Regions from separate parts of the Homo sapiens genome. Here regions 2, 3, 4 and 5 are each linked to region 1. Evidence: promoter capture Hi-C in 16 types of primary human blood cells and fetal thymus (Javierre and others, 2016). All regions are on one chromosome and are shown on one strand. Each heading gives the region's core, a stretch centred on a gene start or on the middle of the fragment in contact. The rest is flanking DNA. Distances are from core to core; before and after follow the strand shown. Region 1 holds the start of WDR73 (WD repeat domain 73). Region 2 overlaps ALPK3 (alpha kinase 3). Region 3 overlaps ZNF592 (zinc finger protein 592). Region 4 overlaps SLC28A1 (solute carrier family 28 member 1). Region 5 has its middle 7.8 kb from the start of ALPK3.

What was found. Contacts are between HindIII fragments. The CHiCAGO score rates a contact against its expected background, and 5 or more counts as called.
Region 2: a contact is called between a fragment that was not itself captured here and the fragment with the promoter of WDR73 in region 1, in 3 of 17 cell types (M2 macrophages, neutrophils and endothelial precursors). The highest score is 8.1, in M2 macrophages.
Region 3: a contact is called between a fragment that was not itself captured here and the fragment with the promoter of WDR73 in region 1, in 17 of 17 cell types (neutrophils, naive CD8 T cells, naive CD4 T cells and 14 more). The highest score is 15.5, in neutrophils.
Region 4: a fragment that was not itself captured here is called in contact with the fragment with the promoter of WDR73 in region 1 in 3 of 17 cell types (endothelial precursors, M0 macrophages and M2 macrophages); the score reaches 6.0 in endothelial precursors.
Region 5: a fragment that was not itself captured here is called in contact with the fragment with the promoter of WDR73 in region 1 in 17 of 17 cell types (M2 macrophages, M0 macrophages, naive CD4 T cells and 14 more); the score reaches 11.3 in M2 macrophages.

What each region holds. Positions count from the first base shown.
Region 1 is chr15:84,651,490-84,655,875 of GRCh38, reverse strand. WDR73 (WD repeat domain 73) reads left to right here and starts at 1,593. Exons shown (of 8, transcript NM_032856.5): 1 at 1,593-1,642; 2 at 2,177-2,244; 3 at 3,074-3,162. The coding sequence starts at 1,602. It overlaps NMB (neuromedin B), which reads left to right. Exons shown (of 3, transcript NM_021077.4): 3 at 467-744. The coding sequence ends at 502. RefSeq lists enhancers at 1,607-1,846, 1,273-2,240. The HindIII fragment of the contact is 10,475 bases long and covers 1-4,386 here.
Region 2 is chr15:84,845,801-84,850,369 of GRCh38, reverse strand. The region is part of intron 5 of ALPK3 (alpha kinase 3); the gene reads right to left. Among named protein-coding and RNA genes, the nearest start is that of ALPK3, 31 kb to the right of the region's middle. The HindIII fragment of the contact is 4,724 bases long and covers 1-4,313 here.
Region 3 is chr15:84,788,750-84,793,596 of GRCh38, reverse strand. ZNF592 (zinc finger protein 592) reads right to left here. Exons shown (of 11, transcript NM_014630.3): 5 at 2,714-2,892. Among named protein-coding and RNA genes, the nearest start is that of ALPK3, 26 kb to the left of the region's middle. The HindIII fragment of the contact is 1,228 bases long and covers 1,859-3,086 here.
Region 4 is chr15:84,889,653-84,894,237 of GRCh38, reverse strand. SLC28A1 (solute carrier family 28 member 1) reads right to left here. Exons shown (of 19, transcript NM_004213.5): 5 at 3,704-3,795. Among named protein-coding and RNA genes, the nearest start is that of SLC28A1, 7.3 kb to the right of the region's middle. RefSeq lists an enhancer at 3,993-4,561. The HindIII fragment of the contact is 2,956 bases long and covers 809-3,764 here.
Region 5 is chr15:84,807,047-84,812,026 of GRCh38, reverse strand. No RefSeq gene overlaps it. Among named protein-coding and RNA genes, the nearest start is that of ALPK3, 7.8 kb to the left of the region's middle. The HindIII fragment of the contact is 178 bases long and covers 3,130-3,307 here.

The DNA of each region.
Region 1 (4,386 bases), core at 344-2,843:
CCCTGAGGACCTCAGATGTAAGGCCTAGGAGCTTGGGCTGGCTGAGTCTGAAGGGAAACAATGTCACCTCTAATGCCCTTGGTTTTGAAGCTCTGACACATGCAGACCAACTAGAGAATCTCAGAAGCAGCAGTGCCTACGTCTGGGGCTTCAGAGTGAGGTCTGGGGCAGAGCTGGGGTGGGGGAGTGAGGACGCTGACACTAGCCCAGCACCAAGCACTGTATTTGGATTTTCTTCCACGATCTTCTTTGACTGTCATGACCACCCTGGGTGGTTGGGGCTGTGTTCTGAGAAAACTACTGCCCCGACCCCTCCAAGGCAATTCAGGGTGCTCTGGGGCCTGCCTCAGCTGACAGCCTGCTGGTGCCCACCTCTGCAGACATCTGGCACTTAGGAATGGCAGGATGCCCCTATCTTTATCAGGAGCCCCTCCCTGGCTCAATTCTTCTGTATGTTTCTCTTCAGTACAGGAGGCTGCTGGTACAAATACTGCAGAAATGACACCAATAATGGGGCAGACACAACAGCGTGGCTTAGATTGTGCCCACCCAGGGAAGGTGCTGAATGGGACCCTGTTGATGGCCCCATCTGGATGTAAATCCTGAGCTCAAATCTCTGTTACTCCATTACTGTGATTTCTGGCTGGGTCACCAGAAATATCGCTGATGCAGACACAGATTATGTTCCTGCTGTATTTCCTGCTTCCCTGTTGAATTGGTGAATAAAACCTTGCTCTTTACATACAATGCCTGGTCCTCTCCTTTCACCCGTCTTTTAGGGGATGGGAGGAAAAGGGGGCTGGAGGGCAGAGTGTTCAGTGAGATGGGGCTGGCTCAAAAAGTCCAGAATACCCCATGCCATGGCACCAGCCTGGCACTGACTCTGGCCTCCTACCCATTCATTCAGCAAGCAAATAACGCCTGTTGCATGCCAGGCTTCGTGCCAGGCGCGGGGTTCTACTCTCATCTCTGCCACCTACTGGCGCAGGCAAGTGTCACTAGTTTCCTCGCTAGTAAAAGGGGGCTGCAGACACTACACTGCCGGGCTTTACTCAATACCCCCGCCGGACTTGGAGGGGAGCGCCGAGTTGGGATCCAGACCCTGCCGGCCGCTTCCTCTCTTCTCTGGCCGTCAGAAGGGTTGCCAGCGTTAGCAAATAAAAATACTGGACACCCAGTTAAATTCGAATTTCAGATAAACAATAATTTTATCTAATAAAATGTACCAAATATTGCATGAACATACTCGTAAGAAAGAAATTATTCACCGTTTTTCTGAAATTCGAATTTAACCGGGCGGTCCTGTATTATTTCTGGCCTTGGAGCATTCATTGCCCCTCTCTTGGGCTGCAAACACCTGGCCCTAAAACGGGCGATCATTTGGTCCTCAGGTCCTGCTTGGAGCTGACAGCGGGAAAGTCCCGATTTCAGGTCACTTTTCCCGGAGCTTTCGCGGAGAAAACCCGTAACCCACCCATGCCGGGCCGCAGCTCAGCCTGTTAACCCCGCCCCTAACGGGAGGCCCTGCCCACATCTCGCGAGAGCCGCGCGGCCCCCGAAGGCTCGCAGGCGGAAGTGAGACGCCGGAAGCGGTCGTTGCCATGGATCCTGGGGACGACTGGCTGGTGGAATCCTTGCGCTTGTAAATCGTACGGGGCTGGGACATGGGAGCTGGGCCTGGAGCTTGCCTGGCGGGCGGATGGGTGTGGGTGGAGGCACGTTGGGGATCCTGGTGCAGAGTGGGCCAGCTGTGGCCTCGGGGCTCGCCACCGTGGAGGACTCCGCCTGGGCCTAGGCCCCCATCTCTAGGAAATGGCTCCTTCCTGCGTGCGCGCGTTGTGAGATTACTAGTAAGAGCCGCGCTTGTGAAGACGCAGTGCCCAGTTAGTTTGCGCCAGCCTCTGAGTTCAGCTCAGAACACAGATGATCTCATTGATTCCTCACGTCAACCTTGGGAAATCTGGGTACCCTGGGACGTCCACACATGAGGACCGAGGCTCAGGGACATCAAGGGACTGGCCTGGTCCCAGAAACAGGGAGTAAAATGGGAAGTAAACTCAGTCCCACGTCTGCCTGACTCCAGAGTTTGGGCCACTGAACCATGCGGCTGCCATCTTGGAGTTCTTTGAGCTGTGAAGTGCTGTGCATCGTGTGATTCTGTGTCCCTTTTGTGCAGGTACCAGGATTTCTATGCATTCGACCTGTCAGGAGCCACTCGAGTCCTTGAATGGATTGATGACAAAGGTGGTATACCTTTCTAGCCCTGAAGGAGAGGGAATCTCACTCCTGAGCTGGGTTTCAGGAGCTAAGCCTAGAGGGACCCAACCCACTCTTCTGGGCACCTGAGAGTCACTTGTAGCAATTTGATGCCCCATCAGCACTAATATTCCTCTTATTAAGATCTCTGACCGGGAGCAGTGGTTCACGCCTGTAATCCCAGCACTTTGGGAGGCCGAGGCAGGCGGATCACCTGAGGTCAGGAGTTCGAGACCAGTCTGGCCAACATGGTGAAACCCCGTCTCTACTGAAAATACAAAAATTAGCCGGACGAGGTGGTGCACACCTGTGTACCAGCAGCTACTGGGGAGGCTGAGGCAGGAGAATCACTTGAACCCAGGAGGTGGAGGTTGCAGTGAGCTGAGATCACGACACTGTATTCCAGCGTGGCTAACAAAAAAAGTCTTCAGGCTGGGCACTTCAGGAGGCTGAGGCAGCGGGCAGATTGCTTGATCCCAGGAATTTGAGACTAACCTAAGCAAGGAAACCCTGTCTCTACAAAAAATACAAAAATTAGCCGAGCATGGTGGCTCACGCCTATAATCCCAGCTACTCTGAAGGCTGTGGTGGGAGGATCACTTGAGCCTGGCAGGTTGAGGCTGCAGTGAGCTGTGATCGGACCACTGCACTCCAGCCTGGCTGACACAGCGAGACCTTGTCTGAAAAAGACACAACCAGGTACTCAATTCCTCCATACAAGGCTGCACAGTGAAGGAATGTATCCTTACTTCGGGGGATTGCATGGTCTGCAATCTTTCTAACAATTTGTGACAGCTACCTCTGCTTCTTTTTCCAGGAGTCTTTGTTGCTGGCTATGAAAGCCTGAAAAAGAATGAAATTCTTCATCTGAAATTACCTCTCAGACTTTCTGTAAAGGAAAACAAGGTAACTTAAAATATAAATGCTGAGTATGTCAACTTTTATTTATTTATTAAACATTTGTGGAGCTCCTGTTATCTACCAGGTATTGTCCTGGATACTAGAAAGAGAGAAAGCGCTAGGCCTGCCCTTCTAGTCTAACAGAGGGAGGCACATATGCACAGAGATAAATGCTGTAGAATGTCTCGTGGTTTACAGAGGGCTATCAGAGGAGGAGGTCAGTTATACTTTATCAGAAATAGATTTAGGGAGCGATTAAGGATATAGAGGGCGGTCGAAATGCGTAGAGTGATTAAAGTCACCTAGTGAATGTGTGGTATATAAGGAGTGAGGAGAATATAGTGAGGACGGAACCTCAGGGAACACATTTAAGGGATGAGTACAGGAAGATGCACCCCCCCTCCCCAAAGAATACTAAGAAAGAACAGCCTCTGAGGTAAGAGGAATCTCAGAAAAGGTCAATGTTTCTGAAGCCAAGAGAAGAGAACTTCTCAAGAAAAAAAGAGTTAGTAGCTGTCTAGAGTTCCAATAAAATCATTGAGAGAAGAATTGAAGGCCAGGTGCAGTGGCTTACGCCTGTAATCCCAGCACTTTGGGAGGCCGAGTTGGGCGGATCATGAGGTCAGGAGTTCGGGACCATCCTGACCAACATGGTGAAACCCCGTCTCTACTAAAAATACAAAAATTAGCCAGGCATGGTGGCGCACACCTGTAATCCCAGCTACTCAGGAGGCTGAGGCAGGAGAATTGCTTGAACCCGGGAGGCGGAGGTTGTAGTGAGCTGAGATCGTGCCACTGCACTCCAGCCTGGGCAACAGCAAGACTGCATCTCAAAAAAAAAAATCATTCAGATGAGGAATTGAGTTCATTCATAAGACTGGCAATTGGGAAACTCTTGGTGACCTCTGCTACAGGATTTTTGCTGGTGGTGGTCAGGCCCAAAGACTAAAAATGAAGAGGAAGCAGAGTCACGAAATGTAGGGAGGGAAGAAGCTAAAGCAGCAACTAGTCGGAAACACAGATCTGAGGGAAGGTTTCCTAAACACAGAGGCTTGAGCAGAGTTAGAAGCTATGGGAAAGTAACCCTTGAAGAGGGAGAGGGTGAAAATGAGGGAATATCACAGGGAACACGCTCCTGCTTCCAGGAATAGAAGGTGAGGATAGATCAGGAGTCCAGGGGATGGTATTAGTCATCAGAGGACAAGGGAGGAGTGAGGCATGCAGGCAGAT
Region 2 (4,569 bases), core at 702-3,201, 190 kb before region 1:
AGTTTTATTCACCTTTGCATTCTTCACAGTACCAAACACATAAGGGGTTCACAGGAATGAACAACTGAATGAAAAATAGTATGGTTTATAACCCTCTAAGGGGGCATGGCCCTGGAATGCTGGTTTGGAAGAGCAAGGGACAAAACCAGGACCTTAACAGGGATGGGGCAGGGCAGTCATTTTTGCATAAGTTTTGGTAGTTTATAATTTTTAAATAACTGCTCTATTTCATCTAAGTTGTTAAATTTATGTGCAGTTTTTCATAGTAGTCTTTTTTTTTTTTCACCCTGTCAATCCTTACAGGGTCTGTAGTGATATCCCCTCTTTCATTCTTAATACTTGTATTTTGTGTCTTCTTTTTTTTTTTTTTCTAAGTCTTGCCAGAAGTTTATTGATATTATTGATCTTTTCAAATAACTAGCTTTGGGTTTATTTTCTCCATAATTTTCCTGTTTTTGGTTTCATTATTTTCTGTTCTTTTCTATCTGTTTGCTTTGGATTTATTTTTCTCTTCTTTTTCTAGTTTTCTAAGGTGGGAACTTAGGTTATTGATATTTCAGATCCTTTTTCTTTTCTAATATAAACATTTTAATGCTATACATTTTCTTCAAGGCACTGATTTAGCAGCATCCAACATTTTGGTATGTTGTATTTTCACTTTCATTCAATTTAAAATGTTTTCTAATTGGCCTTAGGACTTCTTCCTTGGCCCATAAAAGTATGTTCTTTAATTTAAAAGTGTTTAGAAATTTTTCTATTATCTTTCTGTCATTGATTTCTAGTTTAATTTCATTTTGGTCAGAGTACATACTTTGTATTATTTCAATTACTTCACATTTGTTAAGATTTATATTATGGTCCAGGATATAATCTATTTTGGTGAATATTTTATATGCACTTGAAAAGAATGAGTATTCTGTTGTTACACAGAGTATTCTATATATGTCTATTAGATAGTTGGTTGCTGGTGCTGTTCAGTTCTTTTATATCCTTACTGATTTTCTGTCTACTAGTTCTATTGATTACTGAGAGAGAGGAGTGTTAAAGTCTCCAACTATAATTATTGTTTTCTGTATATTTCTACTTTCAGTTCTGTCAGGTTTTGCTTCATGTATTTTGAAGGTATGTTGTTAGGTGCATACACATTTTTTATTGTTATGTCTTCTTGAATTGACCCTTTTATCACTAGATAGTTCACTATTTTTCTCTTAGTAATTTTTTTTTTTTGAGACAGAGTTTTACTCTTGTTGCCCAGGCTGGAGTGCAATGGCGTGATCTCGACTCAACGCAACCTCCACCTCCCGGGTTCAAGTGATTCTCCTGCTTCAGCCTCCCAAGTAGCTGGGATTACAGGCATGCACCACCATGCCTGGCTAATTTTTGTATTTTTAGTAGAGATGGGTTTTCTCCATGTTGGTCAGGCTGGTCTCGAACTCCCGACCTCAGGTGATCTGCCTGCCTTGTCCTCCCAAAGTGCTGGGATTACAGGTGTGAGCCACTGCACCCAGCCAGTAATTTTCTTTCCTCAGAAATCTACTCTGTCTGATATTAATATTGCCATTCCAGCTTTCATCTGATTAGTGTTTGCATGGTATATATTTTTCTATTATTTTACTTGTAACTGACCTATATCACTATATTTGAAATGGATTTCTTATTGACAGCATCAAGTTGGGAAAGTTTTTCTGGTCCTGTCTCACAATCTGTCATTTAATTGATATGCTCAGACCATTTATAGTTAATATAATTATTTATAGGTTTAGATTTTACTCAATAATTTTACTATTTGTTTTCTATTTGTTTCCTGTTTTTCCTTCCTGTGTTTCCCTATTCTTGCCTCCTTTTAGATTAGAACATCTTTTAGTATTCCACTTTAACTTACGTAGTGTGATTTTTACTATATCTCTTTGTATAGTATTTCTGTTGTTGCTCTAGGGCTTACAATATACATACTTAACTCTCCACAGTCTACTTAGAGTCAATATTTTACCACTTCAAGTGCCATACAGTAATCTCACCATCATATAGGTCTCTTTACCCTATGCCCCTTTATGTTGTATTTGTCTTATATATTATATTTGCATACATTAAAAAAACTCCAGCAATGTAATTTTTTTTTTTTACTTTTTACCTTCAAACATATTTTAAAGAAATCAAGATGAAATAATCTATTATATTTACCAGGATATTTACCATTTCCATTGCCCTTCTTTCATTCTTGATGTTTCAAGTTTCCTTCTGGTATTATTTCCTTTCTCTATGAAAAATTTACTTTAGCAATTCTTTTTCTTTTTATTTTTTTTTTTTTGAGATCAAGTCTGGCTTTGTCACCCAGGCTGGAGTACAGTGGTGCAATCTCAGTTCACCACAACCTCTGCCTCCTAGGTTCAAGTGATTCTCTTGCCTCAGCCTCCCCAGTAGCTGGGATTACAGGTGCCCCCCACCACCCCTGGCTAATTTTTTTTGTATTTTTAGTAGAGACAAGGTTTCACCATGTTGGTCAGGCTGGTCTCGAACTCATGACCTCAGGTGATCCACCTGCCTCAGCCTCCCACAGTGCTGGGATTACAGGCGTGAGCCACAGCTCCCAGCCTAGCAATTCTTCTAGAACAGGTCTGCTGACAATGTAGTGTCTTGTTTTTTCCATTATCTGAGAATGTCTTTATTTCACTTTCAATACTTAAAGATATTTTTGCTAAATGTAGAATTATAGGTTGAAAGTTCTTTTTTTTAGCATTAAAAAAAAATGTTGTTCCACTTCCTTTTGGCCTCCATTGTTTCTGATGAGAAATCTATAGTCATTCAAATCATTGCTTCCCTATAAATAATGTATTATGTTTCTCTGGCTACTTCCAAGAGTTTTTCATTGTCTTTACTTTCCAACAGTTTGGCTATGAGGTTTCTGGATGTGGAATTCTATGGGCTTTTCCTGTTTAGGGTTTGCTGAACTTCTTGACTTTTGCCAAATTTTGAAAGTTTTCAGCCATTATTCCTTCAGATATTTTTTTCTGCATCACTGTCTTTCTCTTTCTCCTTCTGATTATCCAGTGACACAAATGTTAGACTTTTTGATACAGCACTCCAAGTCTCTGAGGCTCTGTTCATTGATTTTTCTGATTCCTCTCTCTCTCTCTCTCTCTCTCTCTCTCTCTCTCTCTCTCCCCGTTTCTCCCTCCCTTCCTCTCTCTCTGTGCGTGTATGGGCGTATGTGTTCAGATTGAATAATTTCTATTGCTTTAACTTCAAGTTCACTGTCTTCTCCCTGTCACCTATCACTCTGTTGTTGGGCTCAACCAGTAAGTCTTTTTATTCAGTTATTGTAAATTTCAATTCTAAAATTGATATTTGGGGCTGAGGTGAGTGGATCACCTGAGGTCAGGAGTTCAAGACCAGGCTGGCCAACACAGTGAAACCCCTGTACTAAAAATACAAAATTAGCCAAGTGTAGCGGCACACGTCTGTAATCCCAGCTACTCCCTCAGGAGGCTGAGGCAGGAGAATCTCTTGAACCCAGGAGGTGAAGGTTGCAGTGAACCGAGATCATGCCACTGCAGCGTGCCAGGCAATCCAGCCTGGGCAACAAGTGCAAAACTCTGTCTCAAAAAAATAAAAAATAAAAAATGAATAAAATTGATATTTGGTTCTTCATATCTTTTACCTCTTTTTGTTTGTTTGTTTGTTTGTTTTGAGACAGGGTCTCCCTTTGTCCAGGCTGGAGTTCAGTGGCGTGATCTCAGCTCACTGCACCCTCAACATCCTGGGTTCAAGTGTTCTTCCCACCTCAGCCCTGCAAATAGCTCAGACTACAGACACACACCACTATGCCCAGCTAACTTTTTTGTATTTTTTGTAAAGACAGGGTTTTGCCATGTTCCCCAGCCTAGTCTTTTACCTCTTTGCTGAGACTTTCTATCTTTCCATTTGTTTCCAGAGTATTCACCCTTACTTGCCACATTTTTATAGTAAAGTCAGATGATTTTAAAGTCAGATGATTCTAACATCTGTGTCACTGTGGCATTGGCACTCTTTGATTGTCTTTCCATGCAAGTGGAGATTTTCATGATTTTTCATATGCCATGTAACTTTTATTGTATTTGGACATTTTAAATATTACAAGACTCTGATTCTTGTTTAAATCTTATGGAGAGTATTAACATCTTTGTCTTGGAAGGCAATCTACCTAGTTGTGTTCAGGCTACAAATTCCATTCAGGCCTCTGAGGTTATAGTTTCAATCTCGGTTCCATTTTCCAAGCATTTCCAATGCTGTTTGGGGTTTTTTTATTGTTGTTGTTTTATTTTTGAGACGAAGCTTTACTCTGTCACCCAGGCTGGAGTGCAATGGCATGATCTCAGCTCACTGCAACCTCTGCCTCCCAGGTTCCCGGGTTCAAGCAATTCTCCCACCTCAGCCTCCCGAGTAGGTGGGACTACAGGCATGTGCCACTATGCCTGGCTAATTTTTTCTATTTTTAGTAGAGAAAGTGTTTCACTATTTTGGCCACGCTGGTCTCGAACTCCTGACCTCAAGTGATCTGCCTGCTTCGGCTTCCCAAAGTGCTGGGATTAC
Region 3 (4,847 bases), core at 1,223-3,722, 140 kb before region 1:
TGTATGTCTTCTGACTTCAACCGCAGATCACTGAAAATTTTAATATCGCTATCTTCAGTAATCCCTTTCGCTGAGTCACAATTCATTTGGTCTGGCATTCCTTACAAAAAGGTTTGATAAACTGAACTGCTTTTGAGACATTTCTTTTTACTTGTACATAAGAAAATATGTAATTAAAAATGAAAAGTATTAATCCATCCGTACAATTAAACATTTCTTGGGCCAGGTGCAGTGGCTCATGCCTGTAGTCCCAGCACTTTGGGAGGCCAAGCCAGGTGGATCACCTGAGGTCAGGAGTTTGAGACCAGCCTGGCCATCATGGTGAAACCCCATCTCTACTAAAAATACAAAAATTAGCCAAGCGTGGTGGCACATGCCTATAATCCCAGCTACTCAGGAAGCTGAGGCAGGAGAATTGCTTGAACTCGAGAGGTGGAGATTGCAGTAAGCCAAGATGCTGCCACTGCACTCCAGCCTGGGTGACACAGCGAGACTCCATCTTTAAAAAAAAAAAAATTTTTTTTCTTGGATTCAAGATTCAAAGATAAATATTTAAGTGTTGATTGTATTACTATTGGATTGGATTTGATCTTAGAACAAGCAGCATACACTTAAATCAAGGCTAGAAAGGTATTTTTAAGTGTTACAGGATACTGTAAAAACATATTCAGATGTTTGGTTTAAAATATAGCCTGGGATGCTGCCAAGCAATGCTCCTCAGCAACTTGGTGGTAAGTGCTTTGTATAATCCTGTCTTAGGTTTGTCTTGTTTTTAATGTACTTTAGATACTCCATCCTCCATAAGATGAAAAAGAAATCAGTCTACATTTTTAAATGTTTATAATGCCAGGCACGGTGGCTCACGCCTGTAATCCCAACACTTCGGGGAGTTGAGGTGGGAGGATCGCTTGAGCCCAGGAGTTATGTGACCAGCCTGGGCAACATGGTGAAACCCTCTCTCTACAAAAAGCACAAAAAGTTAGCCAGGCATGGCAGTGCATGCCTGTAGTCCCAGCTACCTGGGAGGCCGAGATGGGAGGATCACCTGAGCTCGGGAGGTCAAGGCTGCAGTGAGCCACGATCACACCACTGCCCTCCAGCCTGGGTGACAGTGAGACACTGTCTCAAAAAAATATACAAATAAAATGTTTACCCCAAGACAGAAATGTGGGAGTCATTGCAAAACTTTAATATACGTGTTAGCTTCCCAGAATGATCTTTCTAAAACATACTAGCCAGATTACTGCCCTGCTGCAAATCCTTCTGTAGCTCCTCAATGTCCGCTGGAAAATGTCCAAATGCCTGCCAAGAAATATAAGGTCTTGCATGGCCTAGCCTCGCCTCTGCCAAACTCCTCATCCCTCATTCCATATAAAAGCTATTGTCAAATCTTGATGCTTCTTCCTAAACCCCTGTCAAATCTACCTTCTCTCCATTCCCACGATCATGCCTTCAGTGAAGCCCTCAGCATCTCATCTGGACCATCATACTTGCCTTTCAAGAAGTCTTCAGTCTCTCTCCTCACTAATATATGTGTTCGCTTCCCAGAATGATCTTTCTAAAATATACTAGCCAAATCACTCCCCTGCTGCAAATATTTCTGTAGCTCCTCACTGTCCATTGGATAAAGTCCAAATGTCTGCCAAGAAATACAAGGTCTTGCATGGTCTGACCTCTGCCAACTCCCTAGTCTCATTTCTCCCCACTCCCACAATTCATCCTGACATTCCTCTATACAACCATACTCATCATTCCTGACACCTCTTTTGTGTATGCTGTTATTCCTGGTCAGGCCCTTGCCAGGTATGGTTTCCCCTTCTTTTGTCTGAAAATCTCCTAATATCTCCTTTAGGAAGCTTTCCTGACCATTTCTCTATTGTGGGACTTAGCACTCTGGGTTATAATTACCTATGTTCTTATGTTTGTAACCTACCAGGGCAAGGGCTGTGTCTTAATCATTTTTGTATCCTGAGTGTCTAACACAATGCCGAAGACAATAATAAGTACACACAAAAAAGTCAAATGAACTAAAACCAAAAAAAAAAATTTAATGCCAAAGAGCAGAAAACAACTTACAGATCAATGAGCTCTAGAGGGAAGTTTTTTCCCTCACTTTGATCTTTTCCCTGAAAATGACTTCTTGCTTATGTTTGACACAAAGGAGGAAATTCCATTGAAAATAAGAGTTTTCTTGGTTTTACCAAGAGGCTGATCCTTTTTTCCAGTCTCAGGTTTTGCCCATTTTGCCACAAACTGACAAAAATTAACAAAAAGAAAGATACTAAAGCCCTTTGAGTTTGGCATCTTGCAGCCCCATTTGTTAAAACCTGCAAACATTTCCAAGTACTGTAATTAGTACATTCATTATTGAAACAGCACTTTACATTTAATGTGCCAAACATAACTTGGTGAGCAAATTAAACTTACATACGTTTTAAAACCAAATAGACAAAGTATTATATGTCTAATCTCCCCAAAACTTCAAAGCTAATTTTCTAATATTTAAGTTTTTAAAACTCCTTATTCTTCTCTCTCTTGTTCTTCCTGTCTGCTACCAAATAAAAAATGTCTGTCCACATACCATCCAATGCTCTTGTCCTGTGTAGACTGGAACCCAAGCCTCTTAAGACCAAAACTATCTGAAATGAGTTCTGGCTTAGGAAAAGGACCAGCCATTGGGCAATACCAGGACAGCAAGCCAGGCAGCACCCACCTGTAGCCCACCTTGCGGGCATAGTGCAGGCAATTCTCCTTTACATGGGTCTGGAAGTAGGCAGAGCGGCAGAGGACCCCACACTCCGGGCAGCAGTAGGGGGACTTGTGTGCATGAATCCGCTGGTGGGCACAGAAACTGCACTGGTTGGGCAGCAGCATTTGGCATACCTGGCAGGTCTAGGAAAGAACACCAAGAAAGCAGATCATGCAGGGGCCATAGGCCTGTGGCTCTCCAATCAGGGCTGTCTGGTTTGCTAGTACATGGGTCAGAATAACCCCTTCCCCCAACCACTCTCTCTTCCAACTCTCCTGGACACTTCTGACACCCCTAGACCTCATTTCCAGTGCTGATACTGATACCCAAGCAAGCTTTGTCTGACACCCTATTAATCAGAGACAGACCTGACCCTATTCTCTCAAAGACCAGTTCCGCCCCAGGACTGTGTTTCTTTCCTGTGGCTTAGCAGAGGACCAGCTTTTCCTTTGCAGAGGCCTAAAGCACATCTTGAATTCTAAGACCTCACTGCACTGCTAGACCCACCAGGGTCTCTGTCACAGCTCAGTAGAGGCAGTTCTTGCCATCTACCCCCAACATTGGCCTGGTAGAGACCTGCTCAGCACCTCGAGTCAGGTGGATCAGTGACTTCCAAAGTGGATCTGAGACCACCCTGATTGGTACTCAGAAGGCTCTCAATAAAGACTGACTGAGTGGTCTTGTCAGTTTCCATTGCTCTAGCCCTGTTTGCCCACTCTGCAGGTTAGGAGAGTTGCGGGGGTGGGGGTTGGGGGGTGGGATGGGTGGCGGGGGTTCCCTGAGCCACAGCTAAGCAAACATACCCACAGACAAGGGCAGATTAGGTAGCAGCTCCTTTGTTCCCAGCCCCAGGAGAAAACCAGGGGAAGTACAAGTACTACAACCAGACTAATTACGCTCTGATGGGCAGAGCTCTGACAAGCAGCCAGCCCAGAGGGAAAAAGTAAAAGACTTCGCTGGTGCCTGCATGCTGGAGAGGCCCTTCTTAACTTCTTAGTAAAGGGGACACCTGTCCTACTCACAGAGGTGGCCACTGATGTGGGGTCAGAGGAGCTGACTAGAGGGATATAGAAGCCAGCTCGAAGGGGCTTGCCACTGACCAAAGATAGGATAACATGAGCATTAAAAAGAATGACTGAATATGTAAATATACTGAATATATAAAAATCAATGAGCCATGACAACATTTAAACTAATAGAGGAGGTCACCTCAAACCCACTAGGATGGCTACTATTTGAAAGAACAGAAAATAAGTGCTGGTGAGGATATGGAGAAACTGGAACACTTGGGCACTGTTGGTGGGAATATAAAATGGTGCATCTACTGTGGAAAATAGTACAGTGGTATCTCAGAAAATTAAACACAGAAGTACCATATGATCTAGCAATGCCACTTCTGGGTGTGTACCAAAAAGACTTAAAAGCAAGGTCTCAAAGAGATACACTTTTATGCTTATGTTCATAGCAACATTATTCACAATAGCTAAGAAGTGGAAATAACCCAAGTATCCATCAATGGATGAAAGGATAAATAAAATGTGGTATGTACACACAATGGAATATTATTCAGCCTTAAAAAAAGAAGGGACTTTTTTTTTTTTTTTGAGACAGGGTCTCTGATGCCCAGACTAGAGCGCAGTGGCATGATCTTGGCTCACCGCAGCCTCCACCTCCCAGGCTCAAGCAATTCTCCTGCCTCAGCCTCCTGAGTAGCTGGGATTATAGGCACGCACCACTACCACCTGGCTAATTTTTGTTTTTTGGTTTTCTGTTTTGTTTTTTTTGTTTTTTTTTTTTTAAATAGAGACAGGGTTTCACCATGATGGCCAGGCTGGTCTCGAACTCGTGACCTCAAATGATCCACCCACCTTAGCCACCCAAAGTGCTGGGCTTACAGGTGTGAGCCACCATGCCCGGCCAAAAAAGAAGGAGATTCTGACATATGCTACAACATAAATGAATCTTGAGGACATGCTAAATGGAAAAGCCAGTCACAAAAAGATAAATGCTGTGTGATTCCACTTGTATGAGATACCTAGAATAGTCAAACTCCTAGAGACAGAAAACATAAGGGTGGTTGCCAGGGCTTGGGAGGAGG
Region 4 (4,585 bases), core at 1,037-3,536, 240 kb before region 1:
GCCATGGCTGGCTAATTTTTGTATTTTTGGTAGAGACAGGGTTTCGCCATATTGCTCAGGCTGGTGTTGAACTCCTGGGCTCAAGTGATCCGCCCACCTCAGCCTCCCAAAGTGCTGCGATTACAAGCGTAAGCCACCGCGCCCGGCCTCTCCCTGGCTTTTGAATTTCAGAATCCAGGATCTTCGAAGAATGGAAAGGACTCATAGCCATGGATAAAAAATGTGATCTGAAACATCACGAATAAAGGTAAGTTCTACCCAACCCCTCTGGTACAGGCAATAACAAGGACACTGGTATCACAGAGAAAGCGCCTGAGCCTGGCAAGGCCGCCAAGCCAGGTGTGTTTGCAGCATTGCAAGCAGTGAAGCCCTGTGACTGGCTTCCTGGTCGAGTCCCAGGGAGGTCCCAGGACTGCAGAGAGAGGAATGCCCGTGTGGTGCGTGGCAAGCAGGGCCCTAGAAAGCCAGTGAGGCTCTGCAGGCACCAAAACAGCGGAACTAGTCTCCACGAGAGGCCTGAAGAGAAGAGAGGCGGGAGACCAGAATGAGCCCACCATGGAGAAGAGGGGGTCGCCATGGCCACCTGCAAGGATAGAGGACCCAGGACCAGCTGGAGAAGTGGACAGGTCAGGAGACACTTGAGGAGTAATGATAGATAAGCCCCCCCGGTGACCCCCAGAGGAAGGGATGAAGGGAGGTTCCAAATGGACAGAAATTGAGTTCCCGTCACTCACTGGAATGATAACATTGAGGGAGAAGATAAGTTGAGTTATAAAAAATAAAATGACCTTTCTCTCACATGGAAGCTTGTGGGCTGGAGTTCCTACCTGAACGGGTGTCATTGAGACACACGGGTGGAGCCCCACAGAGCGGTGCTGGGGCTGCTGGCACCGGCCATGGGGGTTCAGGGGAGGGGGACCTGGCCAGGGAGAGGCTCCGTGGTCGCCAGGAGGTGAGCTTGGCACTTCAGATGCATTTTCACAATGAATCCTCACAAGACCCCTACAAGGTGGGGTCTACAGTGATGCCCACTTGGAGAGGGAGGCCTCTGAGGCCAGCCGAGATGAGTGCCTCACACAGGGAGGGCATGGGGCTAGGAGGCCAAGAAGGTCTGTGCGCCTCAGGGCCTGTGCTTTGTGGTCGGGGCGGGCCAGGAAGGCTGGGGGGGTCTGGGCAGGCCAGGATGGGGACTCAGGGAGAGGGGGCAGTGTGGAGGGGTCCTCCAGGAGGGGCACAAGGACAGAAGTGCTTTTGGAAGTATTTTATTCATCTAGGATCCATTCACAGGGATTGGTTTGGGGACGGGCAGGACCTGAGCTAAGCTCCTTGAAGACCTCCCTGGGCTTTGGCTGGGAGAGCGGGCAAGAGGCACCTCCTTCTTCTAAGACTGGGGACACCAAGGCCATCCTTGTTAGTCTGATGGTGCCAGCGCTGTCGCTGCACCCATGGAGAAGGCCTACCTAAGGCAAGCAAGCCACTGTCGCAGCTCAGGAGCCAAGTCCTGAGAATATGAGCCTCATTTCTCTATCACAGCTATTCCCAGAACGTCTGTGAACAGCCTCCCCAGGAAAGAGGTGATGTAATAAAGATATTGAAAAGCCAGAGAAATCAAAGTCACCCAGAAACAGAGAAAGTCACTGCTGACCATTGCAAGGGATCATTCAATGATTCAGATTGCATTCCTGACAGCCATGGCAAACATGGAAATAGGATGAGTGGGGTAATTTTCATTCTCTACTGGAGAGAATTCAATTGTTCTTCAAGAGAAACAAATCAGATCTGAGTGAAGGAGGCAGCCAAGGAAACAGAGATGGCCCTGGCTTCAGACCCTGCCAAAGGTGGACATCACCATCTCTAGAAGGAAGCTGTGAGGGACATGGACCCACCCCATCTCAGCAGATGACCCTACTTTCAAGTTCACCAAGCAGACCAGGTCATTGCTGTCGCCTCTCTCACTGCCCCTCCCCTCCAGAGCACCTATAATGACTCTGCATCTGTACCCATCCTCCTTTTTCTTTTTTTAAAATTTATTTTTATTTTTAAAATTTTTTGTAGAGGTGGGGTCTTGCTGTGTGGCCCAGGCTGGTCTCAAACTCCTGGGCTCAAACAATCCTCCCACTACAGCCTCCCACTACATCCTCCCAAAGTGCTGGGATTACAGGCATGAACCACCTGCCATGCCTGGCCCCTCTTTAATTCCAACCTGTCAGAATGAGGTGAGCTTGCTCCTGCAAAGACCCACCCCTCCCGGTGGGGTGGGGAGCTTTTCTACTCCGTGCCAGGGGACCTTGCTCCATCGGACATCTCTTCATCTCCCATTCCTTCATATTCCTTCTACAAACTCCCCACCTCAGCTCGTACAAACAAAGTGTCTCCCACCCCAAACTCATGCCCATCCTTGACACTGGGTCACACCCTGCCCATTCAGCCTCCCCGCCTGATCTCATAAAAATTGATCCAAAAAGCCATTTACACTTGCTGTCTGCACAGCCTCATCTGCCATCCGCTCCAATTCAGTTTTTGCACCTACACCCTAAGTCACCAGTGGCCTCCTTGTCCCTAAATCGGTGGACATGGCTCAGTTTTTGTCCTGCGGGTCTTGCAGAGATGCTGCTGATCTTTCCCTCCTTGAAACCCTTGCTCCTTTGGCTGCCGCCAACCCCTTCTGTGTGGCTGGTCTCCAGGCTTCTGTCCTTGACCCACTTCTCAATTCATTCTCCAAGTGTGCCTGGGGAGCCTCCTCTCTCCCTCAGATGGCCTGGCAGTGGTACCTCCAACAAACTATCCTAATTATCCCCCTTCCTGCCAAGACTCCCTCTGCACGCATGTTCTCTAGCTCTGTGGAAGACACCATCATCCTCCTATCACCCGAGCAGGCCCCTGGGGCAGCCCTAATTCAGGGTTTCCTTCATGCTGCACACCCAGTCATTGCCAAGTACAGCTAGCATTGCTTCCCAAGGACCTCTCCCATTGCCCCCGCCCACCTTCCACAGCTTCATTCTCACACAGGCATTGCAGTCCTCAATGTCTCCATCTCCCCCTCTTTCCTGCCCTCCTTCCAGGGTCCCACCGTGTGAATTCCACCTTGACGCTTCCCTGTTCAAAACCTTCAGTGGCTCTCTCTGGCCTTGAGGGTAAAATCCAAGTCCTTGAGCATCCTCCCATATCCCTACCCACTCCCCATCCTGGGCCCTTTCCTATCTCTCCAGCCCCATCCCCTGACACTCCTTGTCTAGAACTTTACCCTCCAGACCTTACAGTGCAGACGTCGAACTTTATCGAAACCCACACCCTGCCAGTTTTCACCTTTGCTCCTGTGACTCCTCTGTGTGGAGTGCCTTTGCCCTCCTTAGTATCTATCACCTCCACCTGGCTAACTCCTACTTAGCCTGTGAGACTCCAATGTCACCTCCTCCTGGAAGTCCTCCCTGATCATCCCCCATTCCTCCTTGGTGTTCCCAGATGACATGCTGCATTATGTGGGACTATTTCTTCCGCCTCCCTTACTGATGAGGGAGTGCCTTGGGAACAAGATCTGGCCTGGCTTAACAGATGCCTCAGTACCCAGCAAGGGAGCTGGACCTGAGTTGGTGCTCAACAACCATTTGTTGAATGACTGGGTGAGTGAATGACCCTGCCCTGAGACATGGATAGCTGAGGCAGGAGTCATTGTGTCCTGGGTAGTGCTGGGCCCCAGGCTCACCAGTGCAGAGCAGGCCTGTGCCGATCCATCGAAACAGCTGCATGTGCTCCCTGCAGAAGCTTCTGGCTCTCAGGGCTGGCTGCAGGTTCCTCCTGGGAACAAGACCAGCAGGGTCCATGAGTGCATGAGCAGACCCCATCTGGGGGAGATCCTCAGCACCTCCACTCAGGTATGTCCCCAGTAAAGTGGCAACAGGGGCAAGCCAGGGCTTGCCTTGACATCCCCACAGGGCTGCAGGGCAACCCCAGCCCAGGGCAAATGTAGAAATGGTTCAGGCCTTCCTGCCTCTGTGGCAGCACCCACAGGCCCCACTACCCCAGTGATAGTCCCTGCCTCCAGGGCTCAGGAGGAAGTTCACTGAAAAGGCAGAACCTCATCAACATACAGAAATGTGGCCGGTGGGGGGGCGCGGTGGCTCACACCAGTAATCCCAGCACTTTGGGAGGCCCAGGAGCGTGGATCACTTGAGCCCAGGAGTTCAAGACTAGCCTGGGCAACATGACAAACCCCTTCTCTACCAAAAACACAAAAATTAGCCAGGCATGGTGGCGTGCGCCTGTAATCCCAGCTGCTCAAGAAGCTGAGGCAGGAGAATCTCTTGAGCCCAGGAAGGGTTCGTGCCACTGCACTCCAGCCCAGGCAACAGAGTGAGACCTGCCTAAAAAAAAAAAAAGAGAGAAAGGAAGGAAGGAAGAGAAAGCAAGCAAGCAAGAAAGAAAGAGAAAGAAAGAAAAAAGAAAAGAAAGAAGGAAGGAAGAGAGAAAGAAAAGGAAGGAAGGAAGGAAGGAAGGAAGGAAGGAAGGAAGGAAGGAAGGAAGGAAGGAAAGAAGGAAGGAAGGAAAGAAGGAAGGAAGGAAAGAAGGAAGGAAGGAAAGAAAAGAA
Region 5 (4,980 bases), core at 1,969-4,468, 150 kb before region 1:
GCTCTCAAACTTCTGGCCTTCTCAGCAGCCCTACTGTAACAGCTCTCTGCTTCCCCTGCCTGGCCTCCTTCCCTCCTTCCCCACAGCCTATGAGGACAATCAAATGTTTGCTTCTAAAGTATTTACCCATTTTTTTTTTTTTTTGAGACAGGGTCACTCTGTCACCCAGACTGGAGTGCAGTGGTGTGATCATAGCTCACTGCAGCTTTGACCTCCTGGGCTCAAGTGATCCTCCTGCCTCAGCCTCTCAAAGGGCTAGGACTACAGGCACACACCACAACACCCAGTTAATATATATATTTTTAATTTTTTGAAAAGACAGTGTCTCTCGATATTGCTCAATCTGGTCTCAAACTCCTGGGCTCAAGCGATCACACTGCCTCAGCCTCCCAAAGTGCTGGGATTACAGGTATAAGCCACCATACCCTGCCAACCCCATCTTTCAGTTCACTACCAAACTTCTCAAAAGAGCCCAAGGGGAGCCAGTCACAATATCAAGCAATAATGGGTTAACAGAATTGGGTTATGAAGTTGCAAACATTGGCCTCCTGAACAAGGTAGAAGCAACCCAATGAGTAGAGCTGAAACATAAGGTCAGAGCCAGGCCCACCCAATGACAGTGGCCAGATGCCAGTCCCTGAGGGTTAACGTGGAGCTCCTGGGGACCACAGCTGGTCCTCAGGCTTGGGACAGAGAGAGACTAAGGGGAGACACATGTGGTCCCATCTGTGTGGAGGAGAGGAAACGGGGGGCGGGGAGCAGGGACTGATCACGGTTGGCAGGAAGGGCCATCATTAAGTAATCCCTACACCTCTAGCCTCTCCCTGCCACTGCAGGGCCTCAGCACTGTCTAGACAACCCTGGTGGAGGGGCCCTAGCCTGTGCCTGCACATCTCCAGGGCGTGAGAATGTGCTACTCCTCCAAGCAGCCCATTTCATTTTCAGGCAGATTTTCCTTTTATTCTGAGTCAAATTTTGCTCTGGAGCCACACAGATGTCTAGACTCCTTTTTGATATGATAGCTCCGCAAAGACGTGAAAATACTGGTCATGAAATACCTCTTTTCTTGATGAAACATCAAATTCCTTCAACAGCTCCTTGAACAAAATGGCACTGAGAGCCTCAGGCCATGCAAGATGTTCCTCTCTGGATGCATCTACTTTGCCAATGTTCACCTCAAACTCCTGTGCCATGAATGGTCATAGTTCACACGAGCTTTTTAGAGCAAAGTACATTATAATGATCATCAACTTCATTCTGGTCAGAAGACTTTCCAGGTCTTATTTTGCTTCTTTGGCACCCATGTGGACTCATGCTGAGGTGGCCTTCTCCACAAGCTGTGGCACAGGTCTGAGGTCAGGGGTCATTGAAAACTTCCTTATGAAGCATCATTGGCTTCCACTCCAGTCCTCAACGCTCCTCAAACCACATCTCAATGCGAGTCATTAATAGCATGGTAAATTAATCAAATACCTATCCAATCCCTCCAGTTTCCTCTATTTTTCCTTCGCTTGATTCCACTCATTCTAAAGTCTCAGCTCTGAGTTCAACAAAGCCCAGTTCTTTCTGCTGATCCTGCCCTCCCGTGGGAACTTACTGCCTTGTGCTACAAGCTGCCCTTCCTGCCAGCTGGTCTGCAGGGCTCTTTGCTGCTTGTCTGACCTCCCTCCAAGAGCTGCCACAGCTCCCAGCTCAGGCAGCTGAGCCTCTATTCCAAGAGGGTGGACACTCCAGGTCCTACCGCTCTGGGATGAGCTGGCCACTCTGGCATGCTTCTATCCAGGGACTGGATAGCTGTGTGGCCACAGCTGTGCTTGGGTAAATGGACACCAATTAAAGGATTACTGGCAATGAGAAGTCAGTCCTGATTCTCATTTGATTGGAAAGGGAATTTGGGACTCAATGATAGAGCTGCCACAGCCACGTGTCTTCCCCAATCCACCTGCTCTGATTCCATCCAGGACTGCCACAAATCTAGGCATGTCCCAAAATAAAGCAATCATTAGATAAGAGGATAAGTGTGTGGTCAGGGGCCAGCAATTAGTCAGTTGGGCCCAGTATATAAACTCCCTATCTTCAACTGAACCTAGAAAAGGCTCTTCCCAGCCCAGGCTTCTCCTGGTCTTCTTGCAAGGTAAACTAGTCTTTTTCCTCCCTTTCAAGTCTTTGTCTTTTTCTAAGAAAGTCTTTGAATCTCAGCTCTCCTTTTCCTCAACAGCTATATCTTCTCATTCTTTAAAAAACTTTTAATACCGGCTGGGCGTGGTGGCTCATGCCTGTAATCCTAGCACTTTGGGAGCCTGAGGCGGGTGGATCACCTGACGTCAGGAGTTCGAGACCAGCCTGGCCAACATGGCAAAACCCCGTCTCTACTAAAAATATGAAAATTAGCCAGGCGTGGTGGTGGGTGCCTGTAATCCCAGCTACTGGGGAGGCTGAGGCAAGAGAATCGCTTGAACCTGGGGGACAAACGTTGCAGTGAGCCAAAGATAGCACCACTTCACTCCAACCTGGGTGACAGAGTGAGACTCTGTCTCAAAAAAAAAAATTAATTCCTCCCAGCAACTGCTGCCACAGTTACTGCTCACCCAAGTGCTGCCGTTGACGAATCAAGCCACTACCTCCCTTTTGAGCTCACCAGCACCATTTCTATCACTGTCTTAAAAAATGCAGTTTCCAGGTTCTAAACTCTCCATCTGTTCAAATTCTTCTGCCTGCCCCTCCACAAATTTCTATCCCTTTTCCCACCATCACCTCCCCTGACAACCCCCACTTTCCATCTTCTCCTTTTCCCCACTTTTAAATCATATCAAAACCCCTCCTCCATAGGCAAAGAGCTTCTTAGAAAGCAGCACCTACTTTCTTGTTCAGATACCAAGAATATTCAGCTCTGTTATGCACAATGGATCTTAGGGGAAAATTCTAAGCAAATTGTTCTACAGACTAAAAAACCCCACAGAAAAGGAGGGATTATGTGTGTGCCCTGTGCTATAATTGAAAGGGGAGACCTAGAATCAGTGGGGTTCCAAGTTTAATGAATGCCAGATTGAAGAGGAGCTTAATCACTCTCTCCAAATATCAAATGCATCATCTACCATCCCCATTTTCATATAGAATAGAGGCAAAGCTTACAGGATTAAGTCTGAGAAGATCTGGTAGGTCTGTACTTGATCTCAGCCAAAAGGCCAAGAAGCGAAGCGATTTAGCAGATCTGGACGAACACTCTATGTATGATCCCACGTCCTTTCATGAAACACCCTGGTGCTGCAGATCCACTGTCACTTGGGGACTCATTGTGATGGAAGCTTCTCCTAGTTAGAATGGATTTACATGTCTTTATCACATCCTTCTGCACCCCTTTTCCTTATGGTCAATTAAATATTTGTTGATTTTAGTATTCATGCACTGAAAACTCAATTTAAATCTGTAAATGGGTATATATAGATATATATATAAAATAAGAGCTTTTTTTTTTTTTGAGACGGAGTCTCGCTCTGTCGCCCAGCGTGGAGTATGATGGTGTGTTCTCAGCTCACTGCAGCCTCCACCTCCCAGGTTCAAGCAATTCTCCTGCCTCAGCCTCCTGAGTAGCCGGGACTTCAGGCACCTGCCACCACGCCGGGCTAATTTTTGTATTTTTAGTAGAGACAGGGTTTCACCATATTGGCCAGGCTGGTCTCAAACTCCTAACCACATCATCTGCCCGCCTCAGCCTCCCAAAGTGCTGGGATTACAGGCGTGGGCCAAAATAAGAGCATTATTAAAGGCCAATACATGACACAACGAACCAACTCAAGAATTCACCTGGACCTAGAACCCTAATGAAAAATGCCTGGTGACAGAAGGATTTGAAGATGCTTGGAAGTTATGAAGTAGACAAAGTTCAAACTTCAAAAGGCTTGACAAAAGCCAAAAAAAAAATTGCGAGGTACCGTGGCTCACACGTGTAATCCCAGCATTTTGGGAGGCTGAGGCAGGAGGATCCCTTGAACCCAGGAGTTCAAGACCAGCCTGGACAATACAGCCAGACCCCATCTCTAAAAAGATAATAACAAAATTAGCCAGGCATGATGGCACACACCTGTAGTCCCAGCTACTTGGGAGGCTGAGGTGGGAGGATCACTTGAGCCCAGGAGTTTGAGGTTGCAATGAGCTATGATTGTGCCATTGCACTCCAACCTGGGTGACAGGGCCAGACCCTGTCTCTAAAAAAAAAAAAAAGTAATAAAATTTAAAAAGCTGCAAAACTTAGGATGATTAACAATGAGACTTTTTTTAAAAAAAATAGGTACTCATAAAGAGCTAGAACTCTATCTGAGAAAGCATAAATCTAATGCAAACTGAAAAACAAATAAATGCAAATAAAAGTGATATTGCCTTGGAAGGGCTGAGTAAGAGGGATCTTTTCCATTTTTGTATGCATCTAGGTCAAAAGTAAACAAATAAAAAAATAAGCAAAAGAGGAAATACAAGTTCTTGCCTTTGGGAAGGTCTATTTTGACATGAACGTATACAGACTGAGAAGATAAAAATCAAGGTCCCCAGAGATATATAAACCAACCCCTTCATTTGATAGATAAGAGAACTAAGGCCAGGAAAGACCAAATGACTGTCACTTACAGAAATGAGACTGCACCCTAGGGCGTCTGATTACTATTATGACAATGAACTTCTCCATTCTATCACTCGCCAGTTTACTCAAGAAAAAAATAGGGCTAAACTCCCAAGGAAATAATTCTGCAGAAGCAAGAAGCTATATGCTCAGGACTCTTCATTGCACTGATGAAGTAGGGAATTTACATGTTAAACAGGAAATGGTCAATTGTATTGATTTGGCATGATGAACGTGATTACAATTATGGAAAATGATGATTTAGGCTGGGCATGGTGGCTCACGCCTGTAATCCCAGCATTTTGTGAGGCCCAGGCGGGCAGATCACAAGGTCAGGAGATCGAGACCATCCTGGCTAACACGGTGAA